Linked DNA regions of Homo sapiens: all the other regions are linked to region 3. The links are contacts of gene promoters, found by promoter capture Hi-C in human tissues and cell types (Jung and others, 2019). All regions are on one chromosome and are shown on one strand. Each heading gives the region's core, a stretch centred on a gene start or on the middle of the fragment in contact. The rest is flanking DNA. Distances are from core to core; before and after follow the strand shown. Region 1 overlaps SNX3 (sorting nexin 3). Region 2 overlaps SEC63 (SEC63 protein translocation regulator). Region 3 holds the start of CD164 (CD164 molecule).

Region 1 (3,392 bases), core at 868-3,367, 1.2 Mb before region 3:
AGGCATGATCATGGCAGGGTCAAGTCAAGTGATTTCTCCTACCTCAACCCCCTGTGTAGCTCAGACTATAGGCGCATGCCATCACATCTGGCTAATTTTTGTACTTTTGGTGAGACAGGGTTTCACCATGTTGCTCAGGCTGGTCTTGAACTCCTGAGTACACGCAATCCATCTGTATTGGACTCCCAAAGTGCTGGGATTACAGGCATGAGCCACCGTGCCCAGCCAAAAAGATTTTAAAATGTGCAAATTATCACAAAGTTTGTAGGAGACAGAAATGACTTAACATAATAACTAATGCCATACCCTACCAAAAATACTACTCAACACTATATATTCTCTTAGATTATATTCTGTCCGTTAATTCAGACTTTGAACTAATTAGCACAGAATTTGCATAGAACTAAAAAGTGTTTTACAATTGGAAGAAAAAAGTTAAGTGCCACCTGAAGGAAAGACTGGCTTCCTACTGTGTATACAGGGACATCATCTTGTAATATTCACTCCTAAGAAAGTTCTACTTATTTGTTAAGCTTAATGCTACTGGTAAGTAGCTGTCACTCAGCACAAGAAAAGCTTTTAATTCAGGCCCTTAAATCCATTTTGTAGTGGTCTCAATTTTTTCCTAAGTGTATTAACTTCTCTATGTTGTATACCTTACAGCTCAGAATTTTCAACAGATGCTATTGGGCATAACAGTGTATAGGTTTCAAGCATGAAACCAAATCTCACAAGAGATTTAAAAGCACTTGAATTTTCTTTCCCAGGTAACCACAACATTTGTTCATTGTATAAATGACTAAGGAAAAAATTGCACCTAACAAGACTCTTATTATACTAAAAGTCAAGCTTATATTTAAAGATGCTGGCTTGTTGTACAGAGGGTATTCTCATTCCCCACAGGGAATAAAATTAGGTCCCCTGGAGAGTAGAATAATTCCCAGAAAGAAAGCACTGGATTATTTCTCTCTAATTTCACCTATTGGCTTTTTAACCAAGTTCACCCTTCCGCATTAAAATATTAAGTCTTTGTAAATGCCTTAAAGATAAAAAGGCCTTTACAGAGTTGAGTGTTTTCTGCAGGTGAGATTTTACATTCTGAATTCCCTCCTCTCAAATTACTTTACAAAGGGGATTAACTGCTCTCTTTATTCAAATACGTTAAGATCAAGCTTGCGAAAAGAGTCCCCTAAGAATTTTCATACTTCTGGGTACGGAAGTCTATAAAGTTAATCTCTGAAACAACATATCAAGCTTACAGGTACAATGTTGAGAGAAGAGTGCCAATTCAGCTCATTTTACCTTCCATTTTCCCTTTTGAACTTTTGACACAATCATGATTATATCTGATTCACTCTAACAGAAAGGGGAGGGGTGAGGGGGAAAAGTACTTTCCCTTCTATGATTAGCTAATAGTTTGATAGTTTATATACTTAAATTTAGAGGACCATGATTAGCTTAAGAAAGTTCCTTTAGTTTTCTTAACTGGTTATGATTTCTCTTTTTGCATGAGGACTGCTTTAGAGTTTAAAGTCACATCAAGAAATTCAAACATCACTTGCCCATTACATATGCAGTGGTTAACTTAGCCTGTTAAACGTCTTCCTCATCATTACAAGGATTTGTAATTCAATGTAACTGATTAAAATAACTAAGTGCAAAATGTGGGTTTTTTTTTTTTGTTGTTGTTGTTGTTTAAGGTACTGAACTATCACTGCTGAAACTCCTGTGATTGGTCACTTTCAATTTATTTAACTTTCATAAAATGATTGAAGGGCGGAGAGGTTTTTTACCTACAGCTTCAGGAGGACTAAACTATTATTTACTGATCATCTATAAAAGGGCACCATGCTAGATAAGGGAGAATCATTATTTATAATGATGAATAAGATGCAGACCTGGCCCTTATGAAACATACACCAATCAAGGTTAGAAAATAAGCATATAAAAAGTTGAATTTCCATGGTTAAAAATACTACAAACTGGCTGGGCATGATGGCTCAAGCCTGTAATCCCTGTACTTTGGAAGGCTGAGGTGGGAGGATCACAGGAGTTTGAGACCAGGCTGGGCAACATGGTGAGACCCCCATCTCTACAAAAAATAAAAAATTAGCTGGGCAGGCTGGGCGTGGTGGCTCATGCCTGTAATCCCAGCACTTTGGGAGGCCAAGGCGGGTGGATCATCTGAGGTCAGGAGTTCGCGACCAGCCTGGACAACATGGTGAAACCCTGTCTCTACTAAAAACACAAAAATTAGCCAGGCATGGTGGCGGGTACCTGTAATCCCAGCTACTCGGGATGCTGAGGCAGAACTGCTTGAACCCGGGAAGCGGAGACTGCAGTGAACCAAGATTGCGCCACTGCACTCCAGCCTGGGCAACAAGAGCGAAACTCTGTTTAAAAAAAAAAAAATTAGCTGGGTATGGTGGCACATGCCTGTAGTGGGAAGATAAGGTGTCAGGATGGCTTCAGCCTTCGAGGCTGAGGCTGCATGAGCTGTGATCACATCACTCACTGTATTTCAGCCTGGGTGACAGAGGGAGACGGTCTCAAAAAAAAGGGGGGCATTTTGGTGAATACATTATCCATTACTCTATTAAATACACATAACTTTTGAATGAACAATTTCAATGGGAATTAATCCTACAAATATTTCCACACATACAAAAATATTTTAGCATTGTAATAGACACAAAAAAAAACCCCAAAAAAGACCAGAAACAATAAATCTTACATTACAAGCTTATATTACACAGCTTTTTACAAAATATAACTCAGCCATAGGTTAATCAGAAAAGCTGTCTAGAATGTATGACATGTAAAAAGTTTCAGGCTGGGTGCGGTGGCTTATGCCTATAATCCCAGCACTTTGGGAGGCTGAGGCGGGTGGATCACTTGAGGTCAGGAGTTCAAGACCAGCCTGGCCAATACAGTGAAACCCCATCTCTACTAAAAATACAAACATTAGCCGGGTGAGGTGGCACGAGCCTGTAATTCCTGCTACTCCGGAGGCTATGGCAGGATAATCGCTTGAACCCGGGAGGCGGAGGTTGCAGTGAGGTGAGATCATGCCACTGCACTCCAGCCTGGGCGACAGAGCGAGACTCCACCTCAAAAAAAAAAAAAAAAAAAAAGTTTCAGAACAGTATATTATATAGCATAATACCATTTGTATAATATGAAAAGCACGGAAGAATTGACAATTGATTTGGCCCGGATTCATTCATTCTTTCCCCTCCTTTTCTTTCCTTTCCTCAGTCTCTCTGCTTCCCCTCCCTCTCCCCCTCCCTCCCTCCCCTTCCTTCCTTTAGAGACAGGGTCTCCCTAAGTTGCTCAGGCTGGTCTTGAACTCCTGGGCTCAAGGGATCCTTCCACCTCAGCCTCCCAAAGTG
Region 2 (3,303 bases), core at 205-2,704, 1.4 Mb before region 3:
TGTTCACATTAAATACATGTGTATGTCTTTCCTCCAATTAATCCACCTTGTCTGAGTTGATTTTTCAGCCAATCTTCAGAGGGCAAAAGGGAAGTTTCCCTTGGCCCCTACATCCACACTTTGTTTTCTAAACAATAAACTAATGCATTTAAAAGAATTATTAGTTTATGCTTTGGGGCACACAATGTATAAAGATGTAATTAGGGGAAATCAAATACTGAAAGAGGTGGGAAAGGAGCTATAAAGGAGCAGAGTTTTTATATGTCAAAGTTAAACTGGTATAAATTGAAATTACAATATTTAGGATGTTTAATGTAATCCCCATGGTAACCACACAAAAAGTAACTACAGAATATACTCAAAAGAAAATGAGATGTGAGCAGTGGCTCACACATGTAATCCCAGCACTTTGAGAGTCCGAGACATAGATCACTTGGGCCCAGGAGTTTGAGACAAGCTTGAGCAACATGGCAAAACCCAGTCTCTATTTAAAAATAAAATAAAATAAAAATTAGAAAATGCAAAGAAATGTAAACATTTCACTACAAAAAAAATCAGCTAAACAAAAAAATAGTAATGCAGGAAATAAGGAACAAAAGGATATATGCCTATAGAAAACAAATAGCAAAATGACAGAGGTCCTTCTTTTTACTTTTTGTGTGTGACAGGGTCTCCTTCTGTCATCCAGGTTGGAGTGCAGTGACATGATCATAGCTCACTGCAGCCTCGATCTCCTGGGCTCAAGTGATCCTCCTGCTTCAGCCTCCTGAGTAGCTAGGACTAAAGGTGCGTGCCACCATGCCTGGCTAATATTTTTTTGTTTGTTTGTTTGTAGGAACACGGTCTCATTATGTTGCCCAGGCTGGTTCAAACTCCTGGACTCAAGTGTTCCTCCCACCTCAGCTTCCCAAAGTGCTGGGATTACAGGAATGAAACACTGCACCTGGCCCTCCTTCCTTAACAGTAATTACTTTAAATGTAAATGGTTAAATGTTCCAATCAAAAGACTGGCAGAATGGATTAAAAGCACCTGATCCAACTACGTCCATCTACAAGAGACTCACTTTATATCCAAAGACACAAACAGATTGAAGGTGAAAGGATGGAAAAAATATTCCATGGAAACAGTAACCAAAAGATAGCAGGGTGGTGACTATAAGACAAAATAGACTTTAAAACAAAAAAGATTACAAGAGATAAAAGACATTACATATTAGTAAGAGGTTCAATACAGCAAGAAGATATAACATTTATAAACATTTACGTATCTAATGATCATCAAAATGTACAATGCAAAAACCAACAGAACTGAAGAGAGAAACAGACAGTGCTACAATAATAGTTTCAGACTTCAATACACCCTCCATCCCCAAAAATGGATAGAACAACCAAAAAGAAGATAAGGAAATAGAGGACTTAACACAAACCAACTAGATCTAACAGACATATACAACGCTCACTACCCTACAGCAGCAGCACATACATTGTTCAGAAGTGCCATGGGACGTTTTGCAGGATAGACTATATGTTAAGCCACAAGATATTTTATTTTGAAAGACAGATATCATACAAAGTATCTTCTCTGACCGTAACAGATGAGTATGACCAATAAAGATGAGTATACTGAGATACACAGAAGTTAAATCAGTAACCAATACAGATGAGTATACTGAAACACACGGAAGTTAAATAACTTGCCTAAAATTACAGTAGGCTGCAGAGCCACATTTCAAAACCAGGCATTTTGAAAAAGTAAGGTTAAGTAAGTTTTGAAAAGGGAAGATCAAGCCCCAAAAGTAAGATCAAGGAGTCAACAAAAACTTTTTTTAAATGATACATTTTATCTCAATTCAAAAGGAATTCTTTCCATAACCTACGGAAAGAATAAAAGCATGCTTTTGATTATTCGAAATTCTAATAATTACAAGCAATCAGTTATTTTCTCTTGTCAGATAATACTCTTGTCAAATATATCAATGAAAGCCTAATGATATAAAATGTTTAAAGTGATAACTCTTCTATTGTAAATCAAAAAAGCAGTAAACAAAATTATGCACTTACAAATAATGGTTGGATTGAAATTCCACATAAACATTAAGAACACTTCTCATTTTAAAAGCACTAGGAAAGACAAACATTAACAATTACAAGAAAGCACAAAGTGGGCAGTACACACAAAAGGTCACAGCACAGTATTGTTGGCAATACCAAAGATGGGTAGTGTTAAGGTAATTATGTGCAATTATTTCAAAATGTTAAGGATATCCAAATTACATAAGGCTCCAATCATAGCACAATGGTAAATACTCTGGAAGCCATTAATAGACAACTATGATAAACTGATTGTAAACTTGTATCATTAAAGTTGTTTGACAAAAATATCTGGCTTTTAACTCCCAGAACTTTACGTTACTGTTCTGTAAGTGCTTCTTAGCTATGTAAAACAAAAAGGCTAACACATTAGTTTTTTGGATTTTGTTGTTGTTGTTAGCAAAGAGCACATAGCAAAACAAATATACTACCTCCCAAAATGGCAACTACAGCAAAAGACCATTACTAAGGAAGCTCTCCTCCAAGCAGCACTTCTCAAACATAGCTACAATTTAGAATCATATAGGGATATTTAAAAAATACCAGTACATAACACCCACTCCAGACCAAATAAATCAGAGTATCTGGGGATGGGTACAAGTGTTTTAAAAAGTTCCCGAAGTGGGCCGGGCGCGGTGGCTCAAGCCTGTAATCCCAGCACTTTGGGAGGCTGAGGCAGGCGGATCATGAGGTCAGGAGATCAAGACCATCCTGGCTAACCCCGTCTCTACTAAAAATACAAAAAATTAGCCAGGCGTGGTGGTGGGCGCCTGTGGTCCCAGATACTCGGGAGGCTGAGGCAGGAGAATGGGGTGAACCCAGGAGGCAGACCTTGCAGTGAGCTGAGACCGCGCCACTCCACTCCAGCTTGGGTGACAGAGCGAGACTCCATCTCAAAAAAAAAAAAAAAAAGTTCCCGAAGTGATTCTAATGTGTAGCCAGGGTTAAGAATCACTATGCCAAGGAAATCTAAGCCCTCCGTGTTATCATTGCATACAGAGCTTTTGTCCTTAATTGTCTGAAGAAATATTCATTTTATTCAGCCAATTTGCAAACCAAGAGAGTAAAACAAATAACTACTAAAAGGGGTATTAATTATAAGTACGCTTAGCTAAACATGTTAAGCAGAAATCAAGGCAAAAGTATTCCATTAATAATGTTTTAGATAACAGGTACGTTCAATTAACATGTCAAATATGCCAATAAACGAAC
Region 3 (3,088 bases), core at 360-2,859:
ATTCTGCTCTATCATCTTAAAATAGTGCGGTTAGAATTCCCAGTATTATACTGCAATTTACTTCCCTCGTTTTGAAATGTTACCATTACATCTTCCTTAAACTAAAAACAAAACATTAAGTTTACTATATACTTTATTAAACTTTTATAAAATACTAAAACTAGAGGAGAATTTGTAGAATATGAATGCCGTGATAAAAATCATTACACTTCGGCATTCTTCGGTCAAGAAGCCAATGTTAACTACGTAAACATTACTCCTTAACTAATGTTAACTAGAATAACCAATCATACGAGACTGCAGGTTTTAAACCTCTAGTGTTTCTCCCGCTTATTACCTCAAACTTATCTTCCTTCTCTCTTTTGTGTTGTCACGGTATATGGCAATTTCTGCTTTAAAATGTATGTATGCCTTAACCAGCCCTATGCGACTGCACATAACAAAAGACACGCTCCTGATCGGGTTTTAGAAAACCCACAGACCTGGGCACAAACCCCCGTTCCACGACCTACTAAACATACGCTATCTGAGCACAGGACATAGTTAAGAAAATTTTAAAAACAATTGAAAAAAGAATAAACATACAATGTCAGGAGAGTTTACTCATCTCCGTCTCTGCATCTACCTCCTAGGTTTCACTACCTACCTTCCAGTTTAGCCTTAGGATACGTACGCAAAACACCCGGTACATACATGGGTACTTTTCTTCCTTTTCGCATACTTTGAAGTGTGAAGTTTTCACTAACTACGTGCTCAAACGTCAGCTACATTCTATTCCTATCTGCAAAACCAATGTAATTAAATCTCAAGCGACCTTCTCAGACTCAAGTCTGAGACACGAACGAGCATTACCGTCTTTAAGTTTCTCTTTCCCGGACTTCCGGAGAAGGCTACCTCCGGAGAGAGGCGCCGGGAGGGTGAACAACCAGTGGCAGGGAGAGGCAGCTCGGCCCCACCGCCAACCTCAGAGGCGCGACGCCCGGCCCCATCCTCAACCCCACCGCTGCCCCCGCGGAAGGAAGCCACGTCCCCATTTCCGACCCCAAGTGAGGCTAGGAATTACGATGCACTTTTAAAAGGCACCTCGACTTGCAACACTTCGAGGGGGGCCCCAGCCCCGCAGCCACTGGGAACCGCGCGTCCGCTTCCCCCCAGCGCGCTCCCCACCCGGCCCGGCCACGAGTGGACTCCAGGCTGGCCGCCATGTTGCCGGAGTCGCCGCCGCACCCCGAGCGCGGCCCGCCCGCCCGACCGTGGCCCGAACCCGGGCCCCGCCCGCACGGCGAGGAGGCAGTGCGGCTCGGCTGGGCAGGGGAGGGCGGGAAGCCCACAGGGCCCGCGCCCACCTGGTGCCGGAGTGGTGACCAGCGGGAGGGACGTCACCGGCGCCGAGGTTACGTTGGAGATGGGCGCTAAAGTCGTCACGTTCGGGTGCTGGGTCGTGTTCTTGTCCGCGGACAGCACGCAGAGCACGCCCAGGCAGGTGGCGGCCCAAAGCAGTGAGCGGGAGAGCCGCGACATCGTGTCCTCAGCGCTGGCGTTCGGGAGAAAGCTAAGGCTCGCAACGCTCAGTCAACCCCTCAATCCCCTGCGGCGCCGCCTCCGAGACTACGCTCCCCCGCGGGAGCGCGCAGGGGTCACGTGAGAGGCCCCTGTTTTCGGCGTGCGGGGGCGAAGAGGAGGGAGGTGGGGCTCGGACGATACCAACGGGAATCCTACGGGGGGAAGCAGGGGAGTCGGGAGGAAGCCGAAGGAACCTGGCCCTCAAAGCGACTGTGCCACAGCCAAGAAAACTGGGAGCTTCTGCAAATCGTTCTTCTTGCCCTCAGATTACCAGACACGACGCAGCTGGACTTGTCTCATGCCTGCGATAGGGACGGCCCCCACCCTGACTTGCATGGAACAGTCGACATAATGTGGCCTACTGCTTCCACCTGAGCGCCCCGCCAGGCTGTAATTCCGCGGGCCCACGTGACCTCCGGGGCCGCGCCTTCCGGACGCAACTCCACTGGGGCGGAAGTTGGTTTTGTGCGGCTCTCAAGAACTAAGTTTGTGCTGTGCTGCGGGATCCCCAGGGAGCTTCCTTATATCTTCGGCAGGACCCCTTCTTTTTTTCTTGAAGATTGATTTTGCTAGAAGTTATCCTGTGATGGGACTCCCTAGGGGAATGGAGGCACCACGTGGTTAAGGAGTTTGTGCGTTGCCGCCCACATAGTGTGGGCAGCTGAGGCGCCGCCCGGATCAGAGCCGCAGGGCGTCTACTCTGTCACTTTCCCAACCTGACTTTTCCGGATTGCTATTTCAGACGGCGGTTGCAGCAGCCGACCTGTCTCAACTCCACCACTGTAGTCAGAGAATCAAAAGCGGTCTGAGTTGCGAGGTCATTGGGGAGGCCCCCACCCCCACATTACCAGTGAGGAAACTGAGACTTAAAAAAGTGACCTGACCTGGACACGGGATTGCCTGACATCAGAGCTGGATTCTTAAGTTCCTGTTAGTGTTAAGGCGCTGCTCAGACTTTTAGTAAAGGTGAGCGCCATCTACTGCCAAGTCTCACAAAATATTCGCAAAATTTGATACGGTTATCACATGGTAAAAATTAGACTTTAAAAGTTGTATTTAATGCTGTGTTTTCAGCTGTTGTACACTTATGTAATTTTAATTATGCAAAGTTATCCTAATAATATAGGAATATTAATTGCTTTCGTGAGGTCTGTCTTGATGTGCCACGATGACTTTTTTGATGTGCCAAAAAAGATGACTACATAGTGCTTTTACCTTTTTGCTCAAATAGAAAGATTTTATTTCCCCTTGGGATCTTTTCAGTGTCGTCCTTCTGTACCCTCAGGACTATGAACATTTGTTCCAATGACTACGCTAGTTGGAGTAGTGTTGCTTGGATGTAAACAAAAAGCTGATAGTTTTGACTGATCCAGCCCAGAAGCATGAGAATGCTGTCAGGGAAGTGAGCTCCCACCATAAGCCCTTCAGAGAAGTGTCTGCTCTTCTCTCAGGAGGCCTCTCTCTATATTTAACACTTGACTATCTGGCACCCAGACCAAATGAAAGCGCAAGGCAACTTTAATTT

The links. Contacts are between HindIII fragments. The study calls those that stand out against the background at their distance.
Region 1: a fragment that was not itself captured here is called in contact with the fragment with the promoter of CD164 in region 3 in 1 of the 25 tissues and cell types used here (hippocampus).
Region 2: a fragment that was not itself captured here is called in contact with the fragment with the promoter of CD164 in region 3 in 1 of the 25 tissues and cell types used here (aorta).

Annotation. Positions count from the first base shown.
Region 1 is chr6:108,226,147-108,229,538 of GRCh38, forward strand. All of the region lies in intron 1 of SNX3 (sorting nexin 3), which reads right to left. Among named protein-coding and RNA genes, the nearest start is that of SNX3, 33 kb to the right of the region's middle. The HindIII fragment of the contact is 3,127 bases long and covers 555-3,392 here.
Region 2 is chr6:107,948,987-107,952,289 of GRCh38, forward strand. All of the region lies in intron 1 of SEC63 (SEC63 protein translocation regulator), which reads right to left. Among named protein-coding and RNA genes, the nearest start is that of SEC63, 7.6 kb to the right of the region's middle. The HindIII fragment of the contact is 5,484 bases long and covers 1-3,303 here.
Region 3 is chr6:109,380,858-109,383,945 of GRCh38, forward strand. CD164 (CD164 molecule) reads right to left here and starts at 1,610. Exons shown (of 6, transcript NM_006016.6): 1 at 1,347-1,610. The coding sequence starts at 1,521. RefSeq lists a silencer at 1,068-1,347 and enhancers at 1,503-2,012, 1,568-1,917, 1,998-2,227. The HindIII fragment of the contact is 8,715 bases long and covers 1-3,088 here.